Regions from separate parts of the Homo sapiens genome. Here all the other regions are linked to region 2. Evidence: promoter capture Hi-C in human tissues and cell types (Jung and others, 2019). All regions are on one chromosome and are shown on one strand. Each heading gives the region's core, a stretch centred on a gene start or on the middle of the fragment in contact. The rest is flanking DNA. Distances are from core to core; before and after follow the strand shown. Region 1 overlaps DIP2A (disco interacting protein 2 homolog A). Region 2 holds the start of DIP2A (disco interacting protein 2 homolog A). Region 3 overlaps PCNT (pericentrin). Region 4 has its middle 30 kb from the start of S100B. Region 5 overlaps DIP2A (disco interacting protein 2 homolog A).

The links. Contacts are between HindIII fragments. The study calls those that stand out against the background at their distance.
Region 1: a contact is called between a fragment that was not itself captured here and the fragment with the promoter of DIP2A in region 2, in 4 of the 25 tissues and cell types used here (IMR-90 fibroblasts, dorsolateral prefrontal cortex, mesenchymal stem cells and 1 more).
Region 3: a fragment that was not itself captured here is called in contact with the fragment with the promoter of DIP2A in region 2 in 8 of the 25 tissues and cell types used here (adrenal gland, heart left ventricle, liver and 5 more).
Region 4: a fragment that was not itself captured here is called in contact with the fragment with the promoter of DIP2A in region 2 in 5 of the 25 tissues and cell types used here (H1 embryonic stem cells, dorsolateral prefrontal cortex, heart left ventricle and 2 more).
Region 5: a fragment that was not itself captured here is called in contact with the fragment with the promoter of DIP2A in region 2 in 5 of the 25 tissues and cell types used here (IMR-90 fibroblasts, adrenal gland, aorta and 2 more).

The regions. Positions count from the first base shown.
Region 1 is chr21:46,546,398-46,551,984 of GRCh38, forward strand. It overlaps DIP2A (disco interacting protein 2 homolog A), which reads left to right. Exons shown (of 38, transcript NM_015151.4): 21 at 518-645; 22 at 3,374-3,488; 23 at 4,146-4,347; 24 at 5,237-5,346; 25 at 5,427-5,507. Among named protein-coding and RNA genes, the nearest start is that of S100B, 56 kb to the right of the region's middle. The HindIII fragment of the contact is 5,357 bases long and covers 1,124-5,587 here.
Region 2 is chr21:46,456,600-46,462,077 of GRCh38, forward strand. DIP2A (disco interacting protein 2 homolog A) reads left to right here and starts at 2,292. Exons shown (of 38, transcript NM_015151.4): 1 at 2,292-2,623. The coding sequence starts at 2,533. LOC124905046 (a long non-coding RNA gene) reads right to left here and starts at 2,114. Exons shown (of 2, transcript XR_007067915.1): 1 at 1,728-2,114. RefSeq lists enhancers at 1,506-1,645, 3,416-3,485 and silencers at 1,886-2,435, 2,626-2,695. The HindIII fragment of the contact is 5,308 bases long and covers 1,272-5,478 here.
Region 3 is chr21:46,376,449-46,382,543 of GRCh38, forward strand. PCNT (pericentrin) reads left to right here. Exons shown (of 47, transcript NM_006031.6): 16 at 5,246-5,392. Among named protein-coding and RNA genes, the nearest start is that of PCNT, 55 kb to the left of the region's middle. RefSeq lists an enhancer at 2,330-3,110. The HindIII fragment of the contact is 6,085 bases long and covers 803-6,095 here.
Region 4 is chr21:46,572,136-46,577,815 of GRCh38, forward strand. It overlaps a transcript of DIP2A not described here. Among named protein-coding and RNA genes, the nearest start is that of S100B, 30 kb to the right of the region's middle. The HindIII fragment of the contact is 3,898 bases long and covers 652-4,549 here.
Region 5 is chr21:46,529,937-46,536,086 of GRCh38, forward strand. It overlaps DIP2A (disco interacting protein 2 homolog A), which reads left to right. Exons shown (of 38, transcript NM_015151.4): 10 at 2,191-2,301; 11 at 3,588-3,711; 12 at 4,068-4,177; 13 at 4,649-4,751. Among named protein-coding and RNA genes, the nearest start is that of DIP2A-IT1, 71 kb to the left of the region's middle. The HindIII fragment of the contact is 5,555 bases long and covers 1,353-6,150 here.

The sequences.
Region 1 (5,587 bases), core at 2,552-5,051, 91 kb after region 2:
ACAACTCAAGGGAGGGGAGTGCTCCTGGCATCTAGTGAGTACCTAGAGGCCAGAGATGCTGCTCAGTGTCCAACCTAAGCACAGGACAGCACCTGCGATGGTATTGTCAGCCCAGAAGGTCCCTGGTGCCGGGTTTGGGACCCCTGCCCTTAGCTCAGCAGTTTTCAGTCCTTCACAAACTCCACCCACAACTCGTTTCCCACTTGTGAGCCTTTCCCATGCTGACGCTGCCCCAGCAGCCCCACTTTCTTTCACATAGCCTGCCCCTTTCCCATGTTGCCTCCCTTCCTGATGCTGCCCCACCAGCCCCCATTCCTTCCACACAGCCTGCCCCTGTTCCAGGCCTAGCTTGTCACAGGGCCTGCGTTGCAGATTGGGTCTGTGGGGCATTGACCCGTTTGCAAGGCGCTAGAGGCTCCTGTGCTGTTGGCCCCTTCTTGGGGGGCCTGACCATGGTCCTGGCGCATCCAGCTTCTGCCCGTGTGGGTGGAGTCTTGACGCACACCCTTTCCCTCAGGACAACCTGGTCTTCATCGTGGGCAAACTGGACGGGCTGATGGTCACTGGAGTTCGCAGACACAATGCAGATGACGTTGTGGCCACCGCACTGGCCGTGGAGCCCATGAAGTTTGTCTACAGAGGCAGGTGATGCGCTGCGGACCCCCACGCCGGGAGTAGATTCCTTCATTTGCAGCTCGGGAAGTCTTTGTGCAGTAGATGGAAAGCCCAGCAAACTTGAATTCACAAAGCCTAAAAATTGTTGTACATCAGAAAACTCCTAAAGTAAAAGGAAAATATTTGCAGCAATGATACCAGAGTTAATATCCTTACTGTCCAAAGAGTTCCTTGGATTCCTTAAGAAAATAAGGTTTTGATGTAAAATTTGGGGCAAAGGCTCAAGGGGACAAATCAGGGAGGGAAGAATTGAGTAAAGCAAAGGAGAAATGGGTCTAAGTTCCTAATAACCTTGGAATGTGAATTAAAACAGAAAAGTGCCATTTTCTCTGCGAGACACATGACACCCTCCATTGCCTCTGGAATAAAAATCAACTCAACTTTTCTACATGTGTAAAGCAAGGACCTTAGAGATTCTCTTGAGCAAATAATAGACCTCTGGGCCTATGCCCCTGGGCACAGGGGCCAGGAAGAGAATTTTGCTTCTTCTACTCCCAAGCTCCTTGTCTGGGAGGAAGCTCTTCCCCTAACTGGTCCACTCAACCAGCTGCCTTTTTAAATTTTATTTTTCTCAAGGGGGTGCCTTTTTTTTTTTTTTTTTTTTTTTTTTAAAGATAGGGTCTCACTCTGTTGCCCATCCAGGCTGGAGTGCAGTAGTGTGACCATAACTCACTGGAGCCTCTACCTCCTGGGCTTCAAGCAGTCCTCTTACCGCACCTCCTGAGCAGCTGGGACCACAGACATGCACCCCACGCCTGGCTAATTTTTTAATTTTTTTGTAGAGATAGGGTCTCACTATGTTGCTCAAGCTGCTCTCGAACTCCTGGGCTCAAGCAATCCTCCCTCCTTGGCCTCCCAAACTGCTGGGATTACAGGTGTCAGCCAATGTGCCTGGCCAAGGATGTGCCTTTTGTTACTCAAACTAAGGTACTTGGGAGCCAGGTCAGACCCTGCCTTTGAGTAGCCCTTAAAGCAATCGTGAGGGGATTCTGCAAAGTGGTGTGTCATCATGGTTAGTCTTGAGGAAAAAGCCCAGAGGATGGACAACAGAGAAGGTGGGAGATTGCTCAGGGGGCTGGGAAGGGCAGGCTGTGCTCATGCATGTGTGCGTGTGTGTGTGTGTGTGTGTGTGTGTGTTTGTGTGCGCCTGCGTGCAGGGGGAGGGTGGCACAGCCAGGGTCATGACCCCCCTCACAGCAGAAATGGGGGACACATTGGGCAGGTGTCCTTAGGGATAACATCAAGGTAGCCCAAACCCTGCTTTGAGGTGGAGCAGGGAGACCACCCCCTCGCAGGGCCACCTGTACCTGATGGTGACTGCGTCTGCAGGCAGGATAGCCTCCCTGTCCCCACTAGGGAAGAGCTGAGGAATACAGGAGCTTGGAAGTGGAACCACAACCAATTGAGAGTATATGTGCCATTGGAAGAAGAGCAATAGAAGATTTGCAACATGAACTAAGATCAAGAAATGCTAACAAAGTAATTGTTCAAAGAACACAGTAGATGGAATACATAAAATGGATACAGCTAGAGAACAAGTAGAGAAGGTGGAAAGTCAGATTAGGGAACTACTCTGGAAGTAAAATAGGAACTTTAAAGGAACTATTAAGAGAGATGGGAGAGAATAAGGGCTGGTGTCCAGATAGCAGACTCAAGGAGAAGGGATATGTTTAGTGGTGGTTAGGGATTGTCTGAGGAAGCAGGTGGTTGGGGTTCTCTGGACTGGGAAGTGGTCCACAGAGGGCCCCATGGCATGTTGAGCTTATCTGTATTCTCACCATGGACCACACAAAAGCCAAGCAAAACACATCAGACTTCCCCACAGTGGAACTGGCACAAGATAACAGTGCACCCAATTTATCCAAATTGTCACTTTATTGTGCAGTTGTAATAAAAAATATTTTTAAGCATGTAAGTTTCAGAAGTTTTAACACACAGAGGTCCGTACTGAAAACAGTTTTGGTCAAGATACTAAGAGAAATAAATTCAAGATGTGCTATAAGATGTATGAGAGTAAGGAGAACTCAGTACTAGGTGAGGTCTGTTGTGTAAATTGTGTGTGTGTGTGTGTACACACACACCAGTCAAGTCAAAGGAAAGGACAAGAGACGGTATATCCATAATGTCCCAGAGTCAGAATGGTAGACATCCTAACATGATGGGTTTGGTGGGGAGACCATCTTCTTACTTTATGAAAGAAAAGACAAAGATATCAACTCAAAGTCTAAAAGAAGGAAAAGGCAACACAGAAAAAAGGAGGACATGTTGAAATTTTTAAGATAGTAAAAACACGTCTAAATATACTAATCACTATAAATGTCAATAGACTAACTCTAGTAAAATAGAGATGCGATCTGTTGGATTAAAAAAATATAATAAATAGAACTTTTAGACAAAGATTTGTGCAGAAGGAAATTTACATCAGATTAAGGAATTTTTTCTTGTAAAAATGTGTGTCTTTGGAGCTGTTTTGCTTTGTCCTGAAGTCCTCTGTTTTTTGTGACTTGAGACACATTTCAACCATCCTCGAGGAGATTAGAATGATGAGTTACTTTTTGAATGTGCAGCAGGTAGCCCCATTTGATAGACTGCATTTTAAATACTAGGACAGTCTGCCTCTTCCATCGTGAGGGTGAGAATGCATCTGTGTCTTGTTTGGCCTCTTGCCGTGTGGCCATTTCCATGTCTCATCCCGCAGGATCGCTGTGTTCTCTGTGACCGTGCTGCACGACGACCGGATTGTCCTGGTGGCTGAGCAGCGGCCGGATGCCTCGGAGGAGGACAGCTTCCAGTGGATGAGCCGTGTGCTGCAGGTGGGCGCCCCGGCACGGCCTATGGTTCGGTGAATCTCCCAAGCTGGCACCCCCACTCCACTCCAAGTGCCAAGTGGTTGGCTTGTCCCGCCCGGTCCTCCCTGGCTCCAGCTTTGTTTATCTGTATTTTTCATTGCAAATTGACAAATTACAGCTGTATGTATTTACGGGATACAAAGTGATGTTATAATTTATGAATACAATATAGAATAATTAATATATCCATCACCTCAATATTTATTTTTTTCTGATGAGAACATTTGAAATGCACTCTCACAGTGATTTTGAAATGTACATTATTATATTCACCAGTCTGTGCAATATATCTCAAAGAAAAAACTTTCCTCCTCCTGTCTAATTGAGGCTTTGTGCCCTTTCACCATCATCTCCTCATTGCCCCATCCCTCAGCCTCTGATCACAGATTTGTGGACATGTGTACACAAATACAGTGTGTGTGTTTCCCCTTTCTGAGTTAAATGGTAGAAAACTGCACACACTTCTCTTCATCTTGTTTCCTCATTTAACAAAGTGTCCAGAGGGCATTCCATTTCCTGGCCTGGGGAACAGGTCCACAGAGGGGATGTTCCTGTCCCCCACCCAGCATCTCCCCAGCCTCAAGTTGGGGGCCTGTGCCAAACAGGGTCCTTCCCTTTCAGGCCATTGATAGCATCCACCAGGTGGGCGTGTACTGTCTGGCCCTGGTTCCTGCCAACACCTTGCCCAAGGCTCCTCTCGGAGGGATTCACATTTCTGAAACCAAACAGCGCTTTCTGGAAGGGACGCTGCACCCGTGTAATGTGCTGATGTGCCCTCACACCTGTGTTACCAACCTCCCCAAACCTCGTCAGAAACAACCAGGTTAGTTGAACCTAACAACAGGATGCTCTCTAGTCTAACAGTGGTAACAGCGGTGCTTGTGGTTAGGGTGCGGCCCTGCTAGACCTCCAGTGCCAACTGCCCACGTCTTTGGGGCTGGGGTCAAGAGCCAGAGCGAGTGTGCACCCCAGAATGGTGCCACCTCCCGCCTTCCTGGAACCAGCCACGCATGGGGGAACTTAACCACATCACCTGCATGGTGGTTTCCACCTGCCTGTTAGGAACCAATTTTAATGATAAACTCAAGGATGGCATCTTAGCTTTGCATGGCTAGGAGATGGCTCCCTAGGGCTAGAAATGCTGCCCAGGATCATCCTGGAGCTGGACGAGCTGGACACATCACATCACCCAGTGTCTGTGTGGCCTCGGAAATCTCTCAGCAAACGGCCAACTTGCCTTCCCTCATTTTATACATTTAAAAGCTAATTTTAGAGACTGGTTTAACTTTAATGCAATTTTTCATTTCTTTGGTCCTGTTGATTTTTAGTACATGCCAAAGTTTTTTTTTATTAATTATTGAACACATATCACTAAATACATTTCATCAGGAAGATTTAATTTCCTGATTTATACATAAAGTACAGTAAAACAAAATATGTTAAGAATTTTGCTGTGACTGAGGCCAAATCGTATCCTCTGAGATGCGTCGTGTAGTAAACTTCTCAATAAGGCGTAGTTTATGTTCAAGAGAGAAATTCTCTTTGTCACTTAGCATAAACCTTGTAGCTAGCTTTCTGAATATTTGTATCTCAGTAGAAGAGTTAAATGCCTCATTCAAGTATGTTTTCAAAATAAAAATTGTAAATAAAATCACGTGATGTTTATATATGAGAAGTCACCAGCTTTTCATTCAGAGTTCCCCCGTTTCTAGAGGTTGGACCAGCCTCAATGATCGTGGGGAACCTGGTTGCTGGGAAGAGAATCGCTCAGGCTTCCGGGAGAGAGCTCGCCCACCTGGAGGACAGCGACCAGGCACGGAAGGTGACAGGCCAGTTCCGGGGACGGGTGGACGGGTGTCTGTGCCCCGGAGGCGCCAGTGAGCAAGTCGCCCTCTCGTGCAGTTCCTGTTCCTGGCTGACGTGCTGCAGTGGCGTGCCCACACCACTCCTGACCACCCGCTGTTCTTGCTGCTGAACGCCAAGGTGAGGCAGTGTCACGCCCACGGGGCTTGGAAACACCTGTGGGCCGGTGGAGCCCTTTGCTTGTCTAGTTCATGGTGCCA
Region 2 (5,478 bases), core at 1,042-3,541:
TTCTCCCTCCCAGCCCCAGAAGGAACCAACCCTGTGAAAACTTTGATCTCAGACTTCTAGCCTCCAGAACTGGGAGACAATAAATGTCTGCCCAGTTTGTTACTGAAGCCCCAGCAAACTAATAACGCAGTTCTTCTGAGGGGGAGGGAGCTATATTCTCTTTTCTATCTCATTGTTTCCAGCTGAATAATGCAAAAGAAACAACCATAATTATACATCTACTGAGCAGTAAGTGGAGGGAGGAGGAGTAGTGTCAGGTTAATAGGAGAGGTGAGCCACCCCGGCAGGCTTCAGGTTCAAGGCAGGCCAGGTGTGATGGCTCACTGGAGCCTAGAAGTTTGAGACAAGCCCGGGCAACATAGCAAGACCTTGCCTCTACAAGTAATAAAAAATGTATCCAGGTGTGGTGACACATACCTGTAGTCCCAGTTACTTAGGAGGCTCAGGTGGGAGGATCGTTTGAGCCCAGGAAGTTGAGGCTACAGTGGGCCATGATCCAGCAACTGCACTCCAGCCTGGGCAACAGAGTGAGACACTGTCTACGAAAAAAAGGTTTAAGGCAGTTTGGGGAGTCAAAACCTTTGAAGGCATCTACCCAGGTATCTCCAACCCATGTATGACGGGCTTTTCTTTTCTTTCTTTTTTTTTTTTAAAAGACAGAGTCTCACTCCTGTTGCCCAGGCTGGAGTGCAGTCACAGCTCACTACAGCCCTGACTTCCAGGGCTCAGGTGATCCACCCACCTTAGCCTCCCAAGCAGCTGGGACCACAGCCGTGGCCACCATGCCCGGCTAATTTTTTGTGTTTTCAGTAGAGATGGGGTTTTGTCATGTTGCCCAAGCTGGTCTTGAACTCCTGAACTCAAGCAATCTTCCCGCCTTGGCCTCCCAAAGTGCTGGGATTACAGGTGTGAGCCACTGTGCCCAGCCTCATCTTTTCTTAGCAGGGATCCAAACTTAGTGGAAGAGTATTGCCTTGTTTGGGTGTTTTGCTATTTTTGGAGTTCAGTCAAACAGGGATGTTAATTCCTGGGCCTGGTTCTTGTCTTTGACCTGCTGCAGTAAATGAAGCTTCTCTATATGTAACGGGACAGATTCACTGGCTTACAACTGTTTGTTGCTTGCCTTCAGCTGACCACTATTCTTAAGAGTCTCGGTTGGCACTAAGCAATAGCTATCCAATCCCCCTTTCCTTCCTTTTATCTACTACGTTCACCATATATGAAATGTCTGATACTTCACCCACTCGTGGATTCCATTTCACTAGTTCACCCTCCTACTTCACCACTGGTGAGTGATGCAGCCTCGAATCCCATCTTCTCACCAGCTTTAATGCTGCAGAATGGTTTCTCCAGAAGCAGACGCTGCGACTGAGTTTGGGGTACGAGGATGTTGACATGGTATCAACACCCGTGAAAGGAAGGGGAAGGAAGCAGGACTGGGCGGAGGAAGAAGGGTATGTAAGTCCCGCAAAGCTTTGGCCAACCTCGTGTGGAGCTCTGGAACGAGAACTGCTGAAGTTCGCCAGACTCGGGCACTCCTGCCTAACTCAGTAACAGGCGGGCGGCATCGGGACACGGACACGCTGCTCAGGCCCCGCCACAGCCACCCTCGCACCGTCAGACACACTCCCACACATTCGGGGAGCAGGGCCTTCAGGACGCCGGCGGCGCCCTCTCAGTCTAGCTCCGCCAGGCCCCTCGTCCGTCCTCCCGCCCTCCAAGGTCACCTCGCGGTCCGACATGGCTGCTGGGGCTCCTTCGGGGCCAACGATGTGTACTTCTAGGGCTGTTTTTTAAAGCAAAGGAGTGAACACAGGTAAAGGCACGAGAAAGGTGCCTCGACGCCACCACGGACTGCGCAGCGTTCGCGATCAGCACAGCCCGAAAGGGAAGACAGCGGTCAACGCGGACGCGCCATGGCGCGGGGACCAAGGAGGAGCCCCGAGAGGGGCGGGGCTGGCCGGAGGGCCGCGCGCGGGGCCACCAGCGGCGCCTAGGGGTCAGCGCCAACGCCCACGGGTTGGTCATCCCCACTTAGGCGCCTCGGGCCGCAACTAAGCAGCCTGCCCGCCTCAAGCCCGCCACCCTCAAGCAGGCCCAGCGCAGAGCCTGTCGGGAGCGGCGCTCTCCCGCCTCTCCCAATGGGAGCCCGGAGCGGCATCGACGCGTCTTCGGGGCCAATGGAAGCGAGGCTCTGGTGTTGCTGGGCGGGGCCGGGAGGGCTGCGCGGGCCCGAGACCCACTGCGCACGCGCGCTCGCTACCCGCCCTTCCCGCCGCGCACGCGCTCCCGTGTAGGGCCGGCCGGGCGCTCAGGAGCGCGCGGGGCAGCGGCGGCGCGGCGGAGCCATCCGCGCTCGTGCCCGCGCGGGTGCGTTGCTGTCCTGGCCGCGCCCCTGTCCCGCCGCCTCCCGCTCCTCGCCTGGCGGATGTAGGTTGTTGGCCTGAGGGGAGCTACGTAGCCGAGGTTTGCGCTGCCGCCGCCAGGCCCGGTCCGGTTCCAGCCTCTGCCCGGACGCTAGCCGGCCTGGCCATGGCTGACCGCGGGTGCCCGCTGGAGGCGGCGCCGCTGCCTGCCGAGGTGCGGGAGAGCCTGGCTGAGCTGGAGCTGGAGCTGTCGGAAGGTGAGCCGGACCCCGCCCTCAACCCCCGCGACCCGCCCTCAGCCCGGTCCCCCGCGCAGCCCCTCACTCCGGGACCCCCGCGCGGCCCCTCACTCCAGGACCCCCGCCCTTCACCCCCGGGACCCCCACGCGGCCTCGCCCCTGGGACCTCTGCCCCTCAACGGGACCCCGGTTCCTCTACCCTGGAACCCGCCCCTCGCCCCGGAGACACCGTTCCTCAACCCTAGGACCCCGCCCCTCATGTGGGACCCCAGCACGACCCCTCGCCCCGAGACCCCGGCCCCTTACCCCCGGGAACTCCCGCCCCTCACCCCCGGGACCTCCTGCCCCTCACCCCCGGAACCCCGCGCGGCCCCTCACCCCGGGGACCCCGCCCTTCACCCTGGGAGCCCCGCGCTGCCCCTCCGGACTCCCGACCCTCAGCCCCGGGACACCCGCGCGGCCCCTCAAACCAGGGACCACTGCCCCGCCTCTCATACAAGGACCCCTCCCCCATACAAGGACTCCTCCCCCCAGGCCCTTCACACCTGGGACCCTTACTCCTCACCCCGGGACGCCTGCCAAACTTCTGGAGACCTTTCCCTATCCCCAGCTGCTCCCCCAATGGGATCCGACCCCAAGGACTGGCTTTGACTAGGTCGTTTGGACAGGTGTGAGAATCTTGAGAGGAATGACCACTTTTGCCCCAAGCTGTGAGCCCCGCTTTTCTCAAGGCTGTAGGTCTGGGCTTGGTCTGGGCTTCACCAGGATGACTGCGCCCGTTGTCCGCAGGCAGCTACTTCCCTTGGAGCTGGGAGCCCTTGCCGCGCGCCTCATACTCTAGGAGCTGCACCCTGTGCCTCATTTTATTATCTATAAAGTGGGGTTATACCAGCACTTTCCATTTTGGATTGTTATGAGGCTAAAATACCTTAATATATGCAAAGCACATAACACTTAGGAGTTGTTAGCCCCCTCATGGAATTTTTTAAAGTAAAAAAAAAAAGTCGTATAAATGGTTGGTTGATAAAAATAGACTGGAGTAATCTGGCTTCAGAGGTGGTGGGTGGCATTTCCCATTTGGATGTTATCCCTTTCAAGGCCTGTGTCCTGATATTCCTTTTGGCTGTCTTTGGGAAAGAGTTAAGTTCTTCTCCAGTGTCAGAAAGGACTTGCAGTCCTTGAAGAAAAGCATGTAATTGATTCTTACTCTGTTTTTGAGATCTAAATGCATTTTCAGCTTTTAGAATCCATTTTTTAAATAATCTTATTATCCTTAATTTAAGTTTCAGATTGATAAGATTTTGCTGGGTCTGGGGTAGTTATTTCTCAAAACATCTAAATAATATGCACTAGCATACAGTAAGTCATTTAATCCTTGCCAACCTTAGGGAGGTAGATGCTGTTGTGATCTTGTTTTACATATAATACAACATGTACTTGCAACTATTTTGAATTCAGCATTCAGATTTTTAACAATGTTGTGACATGTGGCACATTTTTTTTTTTTGAGACGGAGTCTTGCTCTGTTGCCCAGGCTGGAGTGCAATGGCGTGATCTCGGCTCACTGCAACCTCTGCCTCCCAGGTAGAAATGATTCTTCTGCCTCAGCCTCCCGAGTAGCTGGGATTACAGGGGCTTGCCACCACGCCCAGCTAATTTTCGTATTTTTAGTAGAGGCAAGGTATCACCATGTTGACCAGGCTGGTCTCAAACTCCTGACCTCAGGTGGTCCGCCTGCCTCGGCCTCCCAAAGTGCTGGGATTACAGGCATGAGCCACCGTGCCTGGCTTGTGGCACATTTTTAAAAATGGAAGTACAGGCTGAGTACACAGTGGCTCATGCTTGTAATCCCAACACTTTGGGAGGCCACGTTGGCTTGGAGACGGGAGTTCAGAACAGCTTGGGTAACATAGCAAGACTCTGTCTCTACAGTATTAAAAAAAATTAGCTGGGCATGGTGGTGTGCACCTGTAGTCCCAGCTACTTGGGAGGCTGAGGCAGGAGGATCACCTGAGCACTGGAGCACTCCAGCCTGGGCAACAGAGCGAGAACCTGTCTCTTCTCACCAAAAAAAAAAAAAAAAAAAAAAGGAAAGAAATGGATGGATTTGAGAATTCTTGGTGATTAGATGCTCCTAGGCAGTCTGACAAACTTAAATTAGGAATGGGTTTGACAGGATCTACTGTACTGCATTTGTTAAGGCTCTTTAGGGAAAATCACATATACGCAGTTTAGATTCTGTGCATTTCAAACATATTTTTGCGTATTGCTCCTAATTTCTGCTCCAATGTATTCATTATTCCCTCAATTTTTTGTGTTGTAGTTGTGTTTGAGTGCTTGCTAGGCATTGACAATTGAATCCTTTCCTCAAAGAACTTTATAATTTGTGCGACAGAACACAAGTACTTAAATGAAAGAAATGTTTCCTATCTGTTGGATCCATTTATGCTATTGTCATCTTAGAGATATGTAGGGGATGTATAGGTAAGTAAAGGTATAAGATTATGTAACATGGAGAGGAACCTCGAAAAATAGCTTAAGCTGAGAAAGGGGGTAAACAAAAAAAGTATTGAGCCCAGAAATGGTGGCTTAGGCCTGTTATGTTTGCATTTTGGGAGGCCCAGGCAGGAGGATCACTTGAGCCCAGGAGTTTGAGACCAGCCTAGGCAACATAGGGAGACCCTGCCTCTTCCAAAAAAAAAAAAAAATTGGCTGGGCATGGTGGTGTGTGCCTGTAGTCCCAGCTACTTGAGGGGCCGAGGTGGGAGGATCACCTGACGAGGTTGTGAGCCTTTATAGTGTCACTGCATTCCAGCCTGGGAGACAGAGTGGGACCTTGTCTCAAAAAAAAGTGTTAAAGGGAAGACAGCAGA
Region 3 (6,095 bases), core at 2,595-5,094, 79 kb before region 2:
GATGCCAGGAGGGAAGCGCCTGATCTGTGCCTGGCTGGGCCTGAGGAGCCCGTCCACTGTGTCTGAGCATGAGCTGTTGTGGGCACCATGGTGGCGCCTGGTCTTGAGGATTAATTTTCCTGTTTTCCCAGTCCCTTGGCCTCTGTCCTGCCGGGTGCATTGGCATTTGGGGTTTTGTTCTTGAATTCACCAGCGTTTTGTGGTTGGTGTACACTGAACCAGCATCCCTGTTTGGACCTCTTACTCCTGGCCCGCTGCCCCCTCCCTGGCTGTTGGTCCGGATCAATGCGTCTGTCCCCCAGGAGACGCACTGCTGATGGTTGGGGTATCAGCAAGGTAATTAAAGTTCTTTGGAAACTTTGTAGTGTGCACAGCTCAGAAGTTAATCTTAAGTCCTTCCTTTCAAACAGATGGAACTAAATCAAATCCAGGAGAGAAAGTTGATTAAAGTGAACTGTACTCACATTCCAAATGGCCTTGAGACCTTGCGAGTGACTTCAGTGTTGTGCCGTGCGAACCCGTTTCTGGTCCCTGTGACTAAGATGCAGATGCACAGCCCACCTGGCACCTCAGCAAGTTCCAGGCCGGCGCGGGGGGCACCCGATCCTTTATCCTTTTCCTCCCCATGGCTTATCACACAAAAAAAGGTAGAGAATAAAGGTCATTTCTGGTGTCAGGGCTTCCATGTGTTTATTGAAACTGTTGCCCCAGTTACTTCAGAAAAGGCACTCACTCATTGTTGACGTCTTCCTCCTCCTGAAGCTGGTGGAGCCCCAGCCCTCAGCCCTCCTGGCCGTGCTGGGCAGGGAGCGGGAGCCGGCAATCCACCCCAGATGTTCTGGAGCAGCAGGTCCCGGAGCAGCAGGTCCCACTGCTGAGGACATGGGCTTCGTGCTGTCCTTTCCTGCCTGCTAAGTAGATACAAAAAACTTACTTTATCAGTTACCTTTTCACATGCCAAGTCAAAACACAAAATAATTTCATTGTCTTAAAACTGAGCTTTTTCTAGGCAACTTTTGTCAGGCCTTTTTATATTTAAATCTGCTGTGTAACACACCTTTTCTACCAAGAATCTGTCATCACTTATCTTAGAGCTGAGAAAAGTTTATTCTAAAATATTTCATCACCTCAAAAAGAAACCCCCAGTGGCTCGTGCCTATAGTCCCAGCACCTTGGGAGGCTGAGGCAGGAGGATTGCTGGAGCCCAGGAGTTCAAGACCAAAAATAAAAAAATACTAAAAATAAAAAAATTAGCCTGGCATGTTGGCGTGCCCATATAGTTCCAGCTACTCAGAGGCTGAGGTGGGAGGACCACTGGAGCCCAGAAGGTTGAAGCTGTAGCAAGCTGACATCGCACCACTGCACTCCAGGCTGCATGACAGCAAAACGTTGTCTCAAAAGATAATCAATGAAAATTAAGGAAGAAAACAAGAAACTCCCCATTCTCCCTTCTCCCCCATGCCTGGTGATGTGCCGTCTGCTTGCCGTACCTGTGGGCGTCCTACGTACATAGACTCAGCGTGTGCCCTCGGTGTCCGCGGCTTTCACTTTGTGTGTTTCCCAGGTTGGCGCACGTTGTAGCATGTGTCAATACTTGCTTGGTATGTGTTTTCTGCATATCTTATGCCCTTTTTGTTCTGTATTCCTCCATTACTGCCTTTTTTCACTTTAATTTCCTTGATGTTTCCTTTACCATACGGTGGTCGCCCCTTACCCACAGGGGATGCATTCCAAGACCCCCAGTGGGTGCCTGAAATCGTGAATGGTTCTGAACCCCTTATATGCTGTTTTTGTCTATACATACCTGTCATCAACTTTTACCTTAAAGGAATCACCCTGTGGTGTCTCTGGCATATCTGAATTGCTCCGTCATCAACTTTTAACTGAAAGGCATCACTCTATGGTGTCTCTGGCACGTCTGAATTGCAGCATTGCAATTGAACGGCCTCTCTTGCGCTTTGGGGCCGTTATTAAATGAAGTAAAGGTGACTTGAACACAGGCACTGTGATGCTGTGACAGTTGGTCTGATCACCGAGATGCCTGCGTGTGGGCAGGTAGTGCTTGCCACGTGGATAACGCCGGACAGAAGGATGACCCCCGGCCTGGCCTGCGAGATTTCCTCACACCGTTCAGCTTGGGGGCAGGCAGTTTAACACTCATAAGAGTTGTTTACTTCTGGAATTTTTCATACGATATTTTCAAAATGACGTTGAACACAAGTAACTGAAACCGCAGACAAAGGGGACTGATATATATTGAGTTATTTTCTTAGCGCTTGCCCTGAGCGTTACAGCAAGCACCTTCTAACAATCTGGTTTGGATTAATACCAACTTAATTTTAAAAGTTTACAAAACCATTTGCTAATGTAGCATCATTCCCTCGTCTGCCCTTTGTGCTCATATTGTCGTACCAACCACATCTTTCTATCTTTTTGTGCTCGTTACTTTATGCACGTGTCTTTTAAACCAGGAGGAAGAAGAATTGTAAACAAAAGCCATGTTGTTTTGTCTCCTGTTTTCTCTGTGTCGTTACCTGCACTACTGCTGCTCGTTTCTTCCTGGAAATTCAGGTCTGGTGCCTTATGTTTCAGCCCGAAGGACTTCCTCTGGGATTTCTTGAAGGACAGGTCTGCTAGTGATGAATCCTCTTAGCTTTTGTTTTTGTGGGAATGTCTTAATTTCTCCTTCATCCTTGAGAGATCATTTCCTGGATGTGGACTTCAAGATCCAGGCTTTTCCTTCAGTGCTGCGTGGGCTCTCCGCTGCCTCCCCTGTCATCCGGGGCTGCGTGTCGTGAGCTGCGCCCGTCTTCCTGGGCTGCGTGTCGTGAGCCGCGCCCGTCTTCCCGGGCCGCGTGTCGTGAGCCGCACCCATCTTCCTGGGGCTACGTGTCTTGAGCGGCACCCATATACCTGCTGTGCACTGGCTGGCCTCAAGCTTTGTCCTGAACCCTGCTGAGGTTTGGCTGTGATGGGTGAAGTGTGGGTCTCTGTCAGTTTGTCCTACTTGGAGTTCATTGAGCTTGTATGTGGGGATTATTATTTTTATTATTATTGTTATTTTCATCAAATTTGGGAGGTTTTTGGCCGTCGTGTCTTCAAGGGTTCCTCTGCCCTTTTCTCTCCCTCTGTCTGGCTTGAGGGTGCCCCACAGGCCTTGGAGACTGCTGAGTTTTCTTCATGTTTCTTTCTGTTCCCTGACTGGATCGTCTTAATTGACCTATCTTCCAGCGTGTGAATTCTGTCTTCTGCCTGCTCGAGTCTGCTGCCGAACCCCTCTCTAGTGAATTTTTTTTTCTGTGATTGTATTTTTCAGCTCCAGATGTCAAGGGAGCTCTATTTCAGTCTTTCTCTCTGCTGAGGGCCCTGCGTGCATTGTGCCCTCAGGGCTCTGGCGGGCGGTGGACAGCCTGGCCCTGGCCTTCACCCCTGCTGTGCCAAGCCACATGGTCACTGCAGCCGGCCCAGGACCTCTTGGGCCTTTCCAGCGTGGGCACAGCCCTGCACGTGTTCACACCTTGTAGAGTCCCAGAAGATGTCAGAGCTTTCCAGAGGCCCCTGTGGACATCGCATTCTCAAGTGTTTTCTTTTGTTTTTCTGGCAGTCCCTTATTAGTCCCAACTGGTTTCTCTACTGTGGGCAGTGCGGCTATTAAACACTTGACACTGACTGTTTCCAACCGGTGCCCTGGGGTAGATTTTTTTTTTTTTTTTTTTTTTTTTTTTTTTTTTTTTTGAGACAGAGTCTCTGTCGCCCAGGCTAGAGTGCAGTGGCGCAATCTAGGCTCACTGCAAGCTCTGCCTCCCAGGTTCACACCATTCTCCTGCCTCAGACTCCCGAGTAGGTGGGACTACAGGTGCCCACCACCACACCCAGCTAATTTTTGTATTTTTAGTAGAGATGGGGTTTCACCATGTTAGCCAGGATGGTCTCGATCTCCTGACCTTGTGATCTGCCCGCCTTGACTTCCCAAAGTGCTGGGATTACAGGCGTGAGCCACCGCGCCCGGCCAACCCTGGGTAGAATTTTTGACACCGAGAGCTCTGACCCAGTCACGGCAGCAAGGTGCCCGGCAGGTGGGCTCGGGCAGTTGTGCATGGAAATTTTGGGGTGCTCCAAATCCATTCTGTCCCCCACCCCACCCCAGCAGCTACTGGTTTTCAGGGCTGTTAGATTGGAGAGGAGATATGGAGTCAGGGCAAAGTTAAGCACCTGAAGTTTGTTCTTATGGACACTCAGCCTGTGTTTTCCATAAACACTCTTCGGATGATTGCAAACCTGACCAGATTTCCACAGCTCTGAAAACACTGGTTTTGATGGTTTTTACCACTTTTTCTTTTATAGAGGAACAGATTTTGGAGGTCCTTACTTTGCCATTCTAGAAGTGCTACCTCTGGAAGTTTAAAAAAATAAGCTTATTTCATTAATTTAATTGGCCGGGTGCAGTGGCTCACACCTGTAATCCCAGCACTTTTGGAGGCCAGTGTGGGTGGATCACTTGAGGTCAGGAGTTTCAGACTAGCCTGGCCAACAGGTTTTGGTAGAAACCCTATCTCTACTAAAAGAAAAATTACAAAAATTAGTTGAGTGTGGTGGCAGGCGCCTATAATCCCAGCTACTCGGGAGACTGAGGCAAGAGAATCCCGTGAACCTGGGAGACAGAGGTTGTAGTGAGCTGAGATCACACCACTGCATTCCAGCCTGGGTGACAGAGAAGAGTCCTTCCAAAAAAAAAAAAAAAAAATCTCTGTGTGTGTGTGTGTGTGTGTGTGTGTGTGTGTGTGTGTGTGTGTGTGTATAGAATTCATCTATTGAACCTTATTTAAAAGGTTTTGTTATTTAGAAAGAAGGTTTAATCTTTTAAAAGGGAAGGAACCTAGGTTTCCAAATATCTTGGGTTTTCATGGCTGTAATTCCTTGATGGTGAACTTCTTAGTGTGACTCTTAAAGATGTTACAGGAGCCATTTGGGAATGGTAGTGAGCAGTTGCTTATGACACGCAGCTGTCACCAGTGCGAACTTGTGTCTCCTTAAGTGTTTTATCCCCGAAACCAGGACTTTGTGTTCCCAGTGAAGTCCTTGAACCCATGTTTTCTTTGATGGGGGCTGTGGTCTGGCTCATCCCGGCTCTTGGTGCAGAGTGGGGGCTCCATGCATATCTGCTGAATGTGCTGAATTCCGGCTAACAGCAAAGAAAGTATTTTTCTAGCTTACTGGTATTTTTTATTGTTATTGATGTGTACAGGGTGAATTTGGAAGTGAAAAGAAAACTGCTTTGCATGAAAAAGAGGAGACACTTCGGCTTCAGAGTGCACAGGCACAGCCTTTTCACCAAGAGGAGAAAGAGTCTTTGTCTCTGCAGCTTCAAAAGAAGAATCACCAAGTCCAGCAGGTGTGTGGAATACGCTGTTCCCTTGTGATAAGACGTGTATAGCATAAAAATCATTTTCACTTTATTTCAGTGCACAGTTCAGTGGCAGGAGTGCACTCATGGTGTTGTGCATTTATAGTGTTGTACATTCAGTGGCGGAAGCGCATTCACAGTGTTGTAGATTCAGTGGCGGAAGCGCATTCACGGTGTTGTGCATTCAATGGCGGAAGCGCATTCACCATGTTGTATATTCAGTGGCGGAAGCGCATTCATAGTGTTCTGCATTCAGTGGCAGAAGCACATTCACGGTGTTGTGCATTCAGTGGCGGAAGCGCATTCATAGTGTAGATTCAGTGGCGGAAGCGCATTCATAGTGTAGATTCAGTGGCGGAAGCGCATTCATAGTGTTCTGCATTCAGTGGCGGAAGCCCATTCACGGTGTTGTGCATTCAGTGGTGGAAGCGCATTCATGGTGTTGTGCATTCAGTGGTGGAAGCGCATTCACAGTGTTGTATATTCAGTGGCGGAAGCGCAATCACAGTGTTGTATATTCAGTGACGGAAGCGCATTCACAGTGCTGTGCATTCAGCAGCAGAAGCGCATTCACGGTGTTGTATATTCAGTGGCGGAAGCGCATTCACCATGTTGTATATTCAGTGACGGAAGCGCATTCACGGTGTTGTGCATTCAGTGGCAGAAGCTCATTCACAGTGTTGTGCATAGT
Region 4 (5,680 bases), core at 1,351-3,850, 120 kb after region 2:
TAAAAAATTTTTAGAGAAAAAAGTTTATAAAGATGTCTAAAAATGTTTTGCACAGTTGTACAATGTGTTTTAAGCTAAATGTTTTTACAAAATAGCCAAAAACTTAAAAACATTTGAAAGTTTATAAAGTTACAGTAAGCTAAGGTTAATTTATTATTGAAGAAAAATTATGTTTAGTGTAGTCTAAGTGTACAATGTTTATAAAGTCTATAGTAGTGTACAGTAATGTCCTAGGCCTTCACATTCATTCACCACTTACACCCAAAATAACTTTGAGTTCTACCAGCTCCATTAATGGTAAGTACTTACTATGATTTGAGTGACCCCCAATGTGGCAGTATTAAGAGGTGGGGCCCTTAAGAGGTGATTGGATTAATCTATTCAAGGATTGATAGATTAATGGATTATCATGGGAATGGGGCTGATGGCTTTGTAAGAAGATGAAGACCTGAGCTAGCATGCTCAGCGCCCCCACCATATGATGCCCTGCACTACCTTGGGAGTCTGCAGAGAGTCCCTACCAGCAAGAAGACCCTGACCTGATGTGGCCCTCAACCTTGGACTTCTCAGCTGCTATAATTCTAAGAAATAAATTCATGTTTTTCTTATAATGTAGCCAATTTCAGGTGTTCTGTTATAAGCAACATACAATGGACTGAGTGCCCTGTACAAGTGTACTGATTTTAATCCTTTATACTGTATTTTTACTACCTTTTCTAAATTTGGACATGTGTTTAGATATACAAATACCAGTGCATTACAATTGCCTACAGTATTTTGTACAGTTACATGGTGGACAGGTTTGTAACCCAGGAGCAATAGGCTATATCATATAGCCTAGGTGTGTTGTAGGCTAGGTTTGTGTAGATACATATACACTGTATGTTGTTCCCCCAATGATGAAATCACCTAAAAACACATTTCTCAGAACATATTTCTGTTGTTAAGTAATGCATGGCTGTATGCACAAAAGGAAGTGAGAAAGGGATTTAAATGTTTCATTAAAAAAAAACACAGAAGGGCGCAATACAAGAAATGAAAGAGATATAAGGCATATAGAATATGAAGTGACAGAAGTAAGTCTCTCCTTATTGATAATTACTTTATCTGTAAATAGATTAAATGGACAGAGATTGGCAGAATGGGGAAAAAACAGGATCTAACTGTATGCTGTCTACAAGAGACTCACATCCAAAGACACAGTATTAATATATTGAGAGTGACAGGATGGAAAAATATATTCACTGGGCACAGTGGCTCATGTCTGTAATCCCAGCGCTTTGGGAGGCTGAGGCAGGTGGTTTTCTTGAGCCCAGGAATTTGAGACCAGCCTAGGCAACATGAAGAGACCACATCTCTACCAAAAAAATACAAAAATTAGCTGGGCATTGTGGCTTTCTCAGGAGGCTGAGGTGGGAATATTCCTTGAGCCTGATGGGTGGAGATTGCAGTGCACCAAGATCACAACACTGTACTCCAGCCTGGGAGACAGAGTAAGACCCTCTCTCACAAAAAAAAAAAAAAAAAAAAAAAAAAAAAAAAAAAAAAGATATTCCATGCAAATAGTAATCAACAGGGAGCAGAGGTAGCTATAATAATATAGTTTAAATAAAAAATGATTACAAGAAATGATGGACATTAATAAAAGATTCAATTCAGCAAGATGTAACAATTGTAAACATTTACACATACAATGACAGATCATCAAAATATATGAAATGAAAACTGACAATAGAAGGGAGAAAGGAGAAATAGACAGTTCTATAATAATAGTTGGAAATGTCAGTGCCCTGCTTTGAATAATGGATGGAACAATAAGACATAAGTAAGGAAATGGAGGCTTTAAACAGCACAACAAACTAACTAGATCTAACAGACATATGCAGAACATTCTACCCAACAATAAAAATAGAATACACATTCTTCTCAAGTTCACATGGAACATTTTCCAGGATAGACAACATGTTAGGCCACAAATTAAGTCTCAATAGATTTAAAAATATACAAAGTCTCTCCTTAAACCAAACTGGGATAAAGTTAAAAATCTATAGCAGAAGGAAAACTGAGAAAATACAGAAATTAGTGAAAATTAACACACTTTCAAACAACCAATGGATCAAAGAAGAAATAACAAGAAAAATTAGAAAATACTTGGAAATAAAAACAATGTACCAAAACTTATGGGACCCAGCAAAAGCAGTGCTAAAGAAGCAATTTATAGCTATAAATGCTTACATTAAAAACCAAGAAGGACCTCAAATTAACAAACTAACATTACAACTTAAGAAACTAAAAAAGAAGAACAAACTAAACCCAAAGTTAGCAGAAGTAAGGATTAGTGCAGAAATAGATGAGAGACAATAGAAAAACAGAGAAAATCAAGAAAGCCAAAAATGGTTTCTTTGAAAAGATCAACAAAATTGACATTTTAGCTAGATGGACCAAGAAAAAAAGAAGACAGATTACTAAAATCAGAAATAAAATTGGAAACGTTACCAATTCTACAGTAATAAAAAGCATTAAAAAATACTATGCACAATTGTATGCCAACAAATGGAAAAACCTAGAATAGACAAGTTCCTAAAAACACAAAACATATCAAGACTAATCATGAAGAAATAGAAAATCTGAGTAGACTTATAACTAGTAAGGAGATTGATTTAAGTAATAAAAGATCTATTGACAAAAACCTGATGGCTTCATTGGTGAATTCTACCAAACATTTAAATAACTAACACTAATCCTTTTTAAACTTTTTCAGAAAGTTGAGGGAAAACTTTCAAACTTACTCTATGAGGCAAGCATTATCCTGATACTGGAACCAGTCAGACACTACAAAAACAGAAAACTACAGACCATGATTCCTTCTGAACATTGATGTAAAAATCCTCAATAAAATACTAGCAAACTGACTTCAGCAGCATATTAAAAACACTATATAGCATTACAAAGTGGGGTTTACTCCTGGAATGTAAGGATGATTCAATATATAAAACAATCAATGTAATAAACCATATTAATGGAATGAAGGGGAAAAACCACATGTGATCGTCTCGATTGATGCAGCAAAGGCATTTGGCAAAATTCAGTACCCTATAATGATTAAAGAAAAAAACAACTAGGAATAAAAGGAAACTACTTCAACATAATGAAGTCCATATATGAAAATCCACAACAAACATCATACTCAGTAGTGAAAATCTGCAGAAGCTTTTTCTGATAAGATCAGAAACACAGCAAGGATGACTGCGTTTGTCACTTCCACTCAACACAGAACTGGAAGCTCTTAGAGCAATTAGGCAAGAAAAAAAGGATTCTAAATTGGAAAGAAACAATTCAAATTATCTCTGCCAATGATATAATCTCATATGTAGAAAGGCCTAAAGATTCCACAAAAAAAAGTAGCACTAATAAATTTAGCAACATAGCAGGATACAAGGTCAACACACAAAAATAGTTGCATTTTCATACACTCACAATGAACAATTCGAAAAGGAAATCAGGAAAACAATTCCATTGACAATAGCATCAAAAAATATTTAGGAATTAACCAAGGAGATGAAAGACTTATAAAATGAAAAGTACAAAACATTGAATGGAAAACATCGAACAATACAAAGAAATAAGTGGAAAGACATCTTATGTTCATGGATTGGAAGTCTTAATATTGTTAAGATGTCAGTACTACTCAAAGCCATCTACAGATTCAAGGCAGTCCCTATCCAAATTCTAATTATGGTTTTTGCAGAAAGACTAACTCATTCTAAAATTGATATAGAATCTAAAGACACTCTGAATAAACAAAGCAATTTTGAAAAAGAAAAAGCTGTAAGACAGTTCTCCAAATAAGATATACAAAAGGTATACACCTTTGAAAAATGAAAGCAAAATAAGGACATTCTTAGATAAGCAAATTTTGTTGTTGGCTGACATCACCATAAATACTAAAGAAAGTCCATCAGACTGAAAGCAAGTGACCCCCGATGGCAATTTTTAAAAATTTTTAAGTTCTAGGGTACATGTGCAGGATGTGCAGATTTGTTTCATAGGCAAACATGTGCCATGGTGATTTGCTGCACCTATCAACCAATCACCTAAGTCCAGCATGCATTAGCTATTTTTCCTGATGCTCTCCCTCCCCCAGTGTCCCCCCAACAGGCCCCAGTGTGTGTTGTTCCCCTCTGTGTGTCTATGTGTTCATAATGTTCAGCTCCCACTTATAAGTGAGAACATGTGGTGTTTGGTTTTCTGTTCCTGCGTTAGTTTGCTGGGGATAATGGCTTCCAGCTCCATCCATCTCCCTGCAGAGAACACAATCTAATTCCTTTTTATGATTGAATAGTATTCCATGGTGTAAATGTACCACATTTTCTTTATCTAGCCTACCATTGACAGCCATTTGGGTTGATTCCATGCCTTTGCTATTGTGAATAGTGCTGCAATGAACATACATGTGCATATATTTTTGTAATAGAATAATTTATATTCCGCTGGGTATATACCCAGTAACGGGATTGCTGGGTCAAATGGTATTTCTGGGTCTAGGTCTTTGAGAAATTGCCACACTGTCTTCCACAATGATTGGACTAATTTGCATTCCCATCAACACTGTAAATGCATTCCTATTTCTTTGCAGCCTCACCAGCATCTGTTGTTTTTTGACGTTTTAATAGTTGCCATTCTGACTGGTGTGAGACAGTAGTATCTCATTTGTGGTTTTGACTTGCATTTCTCTAATGATCAGCGATATTGAGCTTTTTTTCATATATTTGTTGGCCGCATGAATGTCTTCTTTTGACAGGTGTCTGTTCATGTCCTTTGCCCACTTTTTAATGAGGTTGGTTTTTTCTTGTATATTTGTTTTAAGTTCCTTGTAGATTCTAGATATTGGGCCTTTGTCAGATGAATAGATTGCAAAAATTTTCTCCCATTCTGTAGGTGGTCTGTTTGCTCTGATGATAGTTTCTTTTGCTGTGCAGAGGCTCTTCAGTTTAATTAGATCCTATTTGTCAATTTCCTTTTGCTTTTGTTGCAATTGCTTTTGATGTTTTCATCATGAAATCTCTGTCCGTGCCTATGTCCTGAATGGTATTGCCTAGATTTTCTTCTAGGGTTTTTATAGTTTGGGGTTCTACATTTAAGTCTTTAATCCATCTTGAGTTAATTTTTGTATAAGGTGTAAGGAAGGGGTCCAGTTTTAATTTTCTGCATATGGATAGCCAGTTCTCCCAGCACCATTTATTAAATAGGGAATCCTTTCCCCATTGCTTGTTTTTGTCATGTTTGTCAAAGATCAGATGGTTGTAGATGGGCAGTCTTACTTCTGGGTTCCCTATCCTGTTCCACCGGTCTATGTGTCTGTTTTTGTACCAGTACCATGCTGTTTTAGTTACTGTAGCCTTGCTGTATAGCTTGAAGTCCAATAGCATGATGCCTCCAACTTCGTTCTTTTTGCTTAGGATTGTCTTGGCTATATGGGCTTTTTTTTGGTATCATATCAATTTTAAAATAGCTTTTTTTCTAATTATGTGAAGAATGTCAATGGTAGTCTAATGGTAATAGCATTGAATCTATACATTACTTTGGGGAGTATGGCCATTTTCACGATATTGATTCTTCCTATCCATGAGCATGGAATGTTTTTCCATTTGTTTGTGTCTTCTCTGATTTCCTTGAGCAG
Region 5 (6,150 bases), core at 2,880-5,379, 75 kb after region 2:
TTGGCAGTAGCCATTTGGGGCTATTTAAATTAACCAAAATTAAATAAAATAAAAAATTTAGTTTCTTGGTTGCACAAGCCACATTTCAAGGGCTCAGTAGGAGTGTGGCTAGTAGCTACTGTATTTATAGATCAGAGGTAGAACATTTCTGTCATCATAGAAACTTCTGTTGGACAGTACTACTGTAGGCAAGCTGGACCAGACCGGAGGACCCTGGTATACTAGAAAGTCCAGGGTGGAAAATAGGAGAACATGGTGAAAATCAACATACCAGTGAAATCCCCTAGTGAGAAGGTCACCTGTGTCAGATCACCCAACAAGGAAACTGCAGGTTAACAAGCTGGCAGACAGTTCCAAGTAGCTCTTTCAGTGCCTAAGTCTTTAATATGAACTATTAGCCAAGGACTTTTAAGAAGGAAATGTCAATATGAGAGAAAATACCAAAAGACAAAGAAAAGGGAAGGGAAGAGAGGGAGTGAGAAAGAGACAAGAAAAGTAAGGAAGGGAGGAAAGAGGAAACAACAAGGAAAGCTAGATACAGAAAACAATGTTTCTAAAAAGTGAGTATTAATATTCTTGGAAATCAGAGATGAAGATGTTTCATAAGTCAAGAAAAGGATGCCGGTAGGAAAGACTAAGAGATGGAGAGCGGAGTAAAATAGGACAAAAAGACTCGATCAAGAAGACACAACACCTGACTGATAACTGGAGTCGAGAAAGAGAAAGGAGAACAGAAAGTAGAACATTTTAAATGAAAATAGTAATTCAGGACAATATCCCGGACCTGGAGAGTGTAAACATTCAAGGATGCACACCAAAACGCATGCCCATAATATTGCATAATACGAGGGGTACAGAAAAGAATCCCAGAGCTTTCAGGGGAAAAGTAGGATGTACACAAAGGATTGGCAATGACAGTGGCTTTTGGGATTTCTCATTGGTAAAACTGAAAGAGAGTGGAATGATGCTTCAGACATTCAGAGGGAATATAATTTTAACTTAAAATTCTGTTCCCAGAGATTCAACAGATTTGAGAATAGTATAGCCATTTTCAGACATGCAGGACTCAGAAACGTTTGGCTCGCAAGCACTTTCTTGTCAAGTTCTTAGAAGATGTCCCTCAGCCACATGAGTGAGTGAGTGAGTAGGGTGCAAGCAGGAGGACCACAGTGGAGGCCCCAGGACGATCACTGGCAGCAGTCCAGGGGGGGCAGCAGAGCCACCATCAGGAGAACCAAGACTCCAGGGTGGGGTGGAATCCTCAGCACCCACCATCAGGAGAACCGAGACCCTCAGCAGTGGAGTCCTCAGCAGCAGGGGACACTCACGGCTCTCCTGAGTGGGTGGTTATTTGGAAAATGACCCACCAGTAGGTGGGTATTTGACCCAGCTGAGGGAGTATTTTAAAACAAATTAGCTAGAGAATACACAGAAAGCAACGCAAGTAGAAATGGAGGTAGCTGTTATCAGAAAAGAAAGGAAATGTGTACTTGGCTATAAAAATGTAAACAGTTTAAGAATAATACTTTATGATATGTTGTGCTCATAGATGAGATTTTATGCAACGCTTTAGAATGAATTCAAGAATCACTAATTTTCTTGAAAAACATTCTTACAAGGATAAAGACTTTCAGATTCTTGACTTGCAAGAGAATCTCTTTGGTTAGGTGAATCATAATAAAATGGACAAGGTCACAGTGATTGAGTTGAAGAAATTGGTGGCAAATTCTGCCTCCTATAATATTACACTTTATAAAAGTGAGCACAGCTCTTCCTAACAAATTCTGTAAAAATATACTTTCCATACCAAACATCTAGTCTGAAGGTTATAGGTTACATTCTGGGCAACCACTGTTAAAACCAAATTTTGAAGGAGAACCTTGCCCTTTTCAACAAACAAACTTGTTAGAAACTAAATTTCCAGACCTCAAGTACAGAATATAGATACAGCTTAAATTTTGTCTTACAAAGTCAGCACTTATTGGTTATTCATTGTTGCGTGTTCTCAAAGGCCCTGAGTCAACTGTCTCTACTCAGTTAAATACTATTTGGACTTGTCCCTTATGGTTTCAAGCACAATTATTACAATATTTGGGGCTTACAAAAATTTTATTTATAACTAGCTTTTAATTTAACTAGATATTGTAAAAATTGGAAATTTGGAATATTCATTTCTTTGTCCTGTTGTAGGTGGCGCTCGTGTTTCCGAATAGTGACCCTGTGATGTTCATGGTTGCATTTTATGGGTGTCTCCTGGCAGAGCTGGTTCCTGTCCCCATAGAAGTGCCATTAACAAGAAAGGTAGCAAACCCATGGCTCAGGTCCCGTGTGGTTCGCTTCTGAACTTGATACCAGCAGTATCTTACTTCCTTTTCACTCATGTGGGCAGGCAGCAAGCAGCTGTTTTGACAGAGGAGAGAAAGCTAGTAGTCAACAGGCTGGCCAGGACTCAAGAGAAATCAGATGCCGTTTTGCCTGCCTCTCTTCTTGTTAATGAGAGGGGCACTGAGAACCGTTTTGCTGGTGATGCTCCCACACCACACTCTTATTAGGTGGAGCTGTTCTATCATCTACATGAATTTCCCAACAGAAATGATAGCCATTTTTTCCTCTAATGAATAGAATTATGATTCAATAAGATTTTGTTCAACTTTTCCTCAAAACCATATGTTTATAGAAAATAATTATTATTTCTTAGGGATAAATATATCATTACAGTGATATAGCTCACTTCTCAGTGGCAGTTTTGAATAAACGAGATGGAAATTATCTTGCATTTCTGTTCACTTATATGACCGTAGGCAGTTTCTGTTGCTGATAAATTATTAATGTGGGGTCTTGCTGATCTAGGTATCTGTAACATTTTTGATATAACTATCAATAATATGATTACTGAAAAAAAATAGACAAGGCATGAATTTGAGAAAATCAGTTTTCTGTCATCCTGTCCCAGAATTCAGGCAGTTGTTAACAGGAGCATTATCCAGAAATATTCAAGAATCCCAAAAGTAAAATTTGCAAATCAAACTAGTGTATCTCAAAGCATAATATGTGATGGGCAGGTATTTGAATGCAGTGGTTCTTAGGAGTAAAACTAGAGATTTGTCAAATTTATATGAAGAAAATGACAGAATACTGCTGAGGGACACAGAAGACTTGGCTACAAGGAAATGTGTTTCTGTGTGGAAATAATTTAATATCGTTGGTGACCAGGCCTCTCTAGATTAATTTGTAAATTTCAAACATGATTCAATAGAAATTTCAATGCCATTAACTTTGGAGTTTATTAAAAATGCTTCTAAATGTCATTTGTAAGAATAAACTTTGAGAAATTAGCCCATTAAACTTTATATTTCAACACAAATACAAACCAAAATTATCTTTTAAATTTAAACATAGTTGTCACATTTTCATGAACTATTTCCGTGAAAAGATCATATATATCAATAATGGGACTGAATTATTCTGGAAGTTTTATGAGGGATGAAAAAAAGATCTGTTCTCTGTGCATGGCCTGGAGCACCAAGGGTCTGGGGCTGTGGCTGCTGTGAGCACCCCACCCCACACGGTCACTCTGCTTTCTGCAGGATGCAGGCAGCCAGCAGGTTGGGTTTCTGCTGGGCAGCTGTGGAGTCTTCTTGGCCCTGACCACAGACGCTTGTCAGAAAGGCCTCCCCAAGGCACAGACAGGAGAGGTGGCAGCTTTCAAAGGTGAGGCCTCCCAAGGGAAGGGGAGTCAGTGTTCTGACTGTGGTCTGTGTTAAATGCATGGTGTTCCAGAAATTAAACATGACAGAGGTGTCTGGGTCTTCAGCAAAAGTGATCCCTTGTTCGAGTCCTTGGTGAATCTCGGTTTTCATCTGGCTTCATGTCTCGACCTGTACTGTCTAATGTGGTAGCCACTGGCCGGATGTACCTTTTTAAATTATATAAAATGAAATGAGACTAAAACTTGCACTCCTTATTCGCTCAGTAGCTAGTGCTGCATGTTGGAGGCGCAGGCTTCGAGTGTGGGGAGCAGATGCCTCTGACTGCTTGCTGTTCTGTGTCCTGTCTGTGTGTCACAGGTTGGCCCCCGCTCTCCTGGCTAGTGATTGATGGGAAGCATCTAGCCAAGCCCCCAAAGGACTGGCACCCTCTGGCCCAGGACACAGGGACTGGGACTGCCTACATTGAGGTAATGACTGTTCCTAACTTAGAGAATGTAAAAACATGTCCCACAGGCTTAAGTCTTGCTTTTCATAAGAATGTAAGTTGCTATTCTTTTTTGTTAAGTTTCGGCCTAAGAGTTCTTGTTTTATCTCTGCCCTGGAAATACAGAGTGTCATATAAATCCTTGCTCAGATCCTTCCAGGTTTCTCTCTCATCTAATTCTCTCCTAACTGGCTCCCTGGGGATGCAGACAGTTATGAGGGAGCCCATGGCGCACCATTACCCTCGGGCACCTGCCCAAGAGGAGCCACAACTTCCACTGAAGCATCCCCTCAGCGGCCAGGGTTTTGCCATGTACCTGGGCTGCTGGTTAGAGGCCGATGGTTAGAGGAGAGACACTGACCACTTCTTCTTTTGAAGATTCTACCAGTTTCCATTCTGTCTGTTGTCACCTCTAGAAATACCACATCATGTTTTTTTCCTTGAAATCTTTCAGTATAAAACCAGCAAAGAAGGCAGTACGGTGGGGGTCACAGTGTCCCACGCATCCCTGCTGGCACAGTGCCGGGCTCTGACCCAGGCGTGCGGGTACTCAGAAGGTAAGGGCTCTCGGGGGTGGGGCGGTGGCCCCTCCAGCCTCACACAGATACCTGACGTACCTAATCATGTGACTGTCACTGCACCTGTCAAAACCACCCCTGGGTAGTGCCTTTGCCCATTAATCCGGGTCATGCCAGGTAGGGAGATGCACTGTCTTTAGCATGCTTACAGGGTCTCTGTGGTTGTGCTGGCCAAGAGGGCACACGGTGTCTCTTAGCAGAGTCCAGACAACCCCATCAGGGTTGTTTTCAGTAAATGCACATGGATGTTGATTTTATGGAACATGGAACCTATATCCCACTGATTGATTTATACACAGTGCTGGGTTCACAGGCCTGCCCTGGGGGGCTGGCTTACTCTGTGACATACTGAGGGTCAGGGCATTTTTCATTCAAAAAGAGGAAAACACTTTTAGTTTTCTATTACTTTATCTATGACTGTAGTTTTGACCTCAGCTGTCATGGATATAAATATATAAGTAGAATCTTTATGGTTATAGATGATCTGTTGATAAAGTATAGTCAGCACCTGATTTACTTCAAATGTCAGATACTTAACTTGAGATATCTTTAAATTAATATTATTTAATTGATAAGTACTAATTGTATATATTTATGGGGTACACTGTGACAATTTTAAAAACTGTAAAAATGGACTCAGTAGTTTTCTTACATTGTAATACTAGAATTGAACAAAACTACTGAGTGAAATTGAATGGTATGTCTAAATATCTAAAATATAGGTGTTCAGGCCAGGTGCAGTGGTTCATACCAGTAATCCCACCACTTTGGTAGGCTAAAGCAGGAGGAACACTTGAGGTCAAGAGTTTGAGAGCAGCCTGGACAACATAGTGAGACCCTGTCTCTACAAAAAAAGGGAGAAATTTTAAATAGAATTTTTAAAAAAGAAAAAAATATAGGTGTTTAAAAGCAAGGGTATAAGTTGAGGGCACAGCTAAAGCTTTTACTTGAGATTTGGAAAGTGATTTTAGGTATTTTTTAAGGGCTTTATTAAAAAAGTTAGATCTTTCAGATCAAGCCCCGTGACTTTCTTTGTCTTCAGCTCAGAGCTGATCTTACATATGTCACCTACAATTTGGGTTCTTTAGCCAGGCGTGATGATGTGTGCCTATAGTCCCAGCTACTCGGGAAGCTGAGGTAAGAGGACCGCCTGAGCCCAGGAGTTTTGGGCTGTAGTGGGCTGTGCTAACCAGGTATCTGCACGAAGTTTGGCAGCAACATGGTGACCTTCTAGGAGTGGGGAACCACCAGCTTGCTAAGGAGGGGTGAACCGACCCAAGTAGGAAAGGGAGCAGGTCAAAACTCCCATGCCAATGAGTAATGGGATTGTGCCTATGAATATTCACTGCACTGCAGCCTGGCAACGTAATAAGACCTC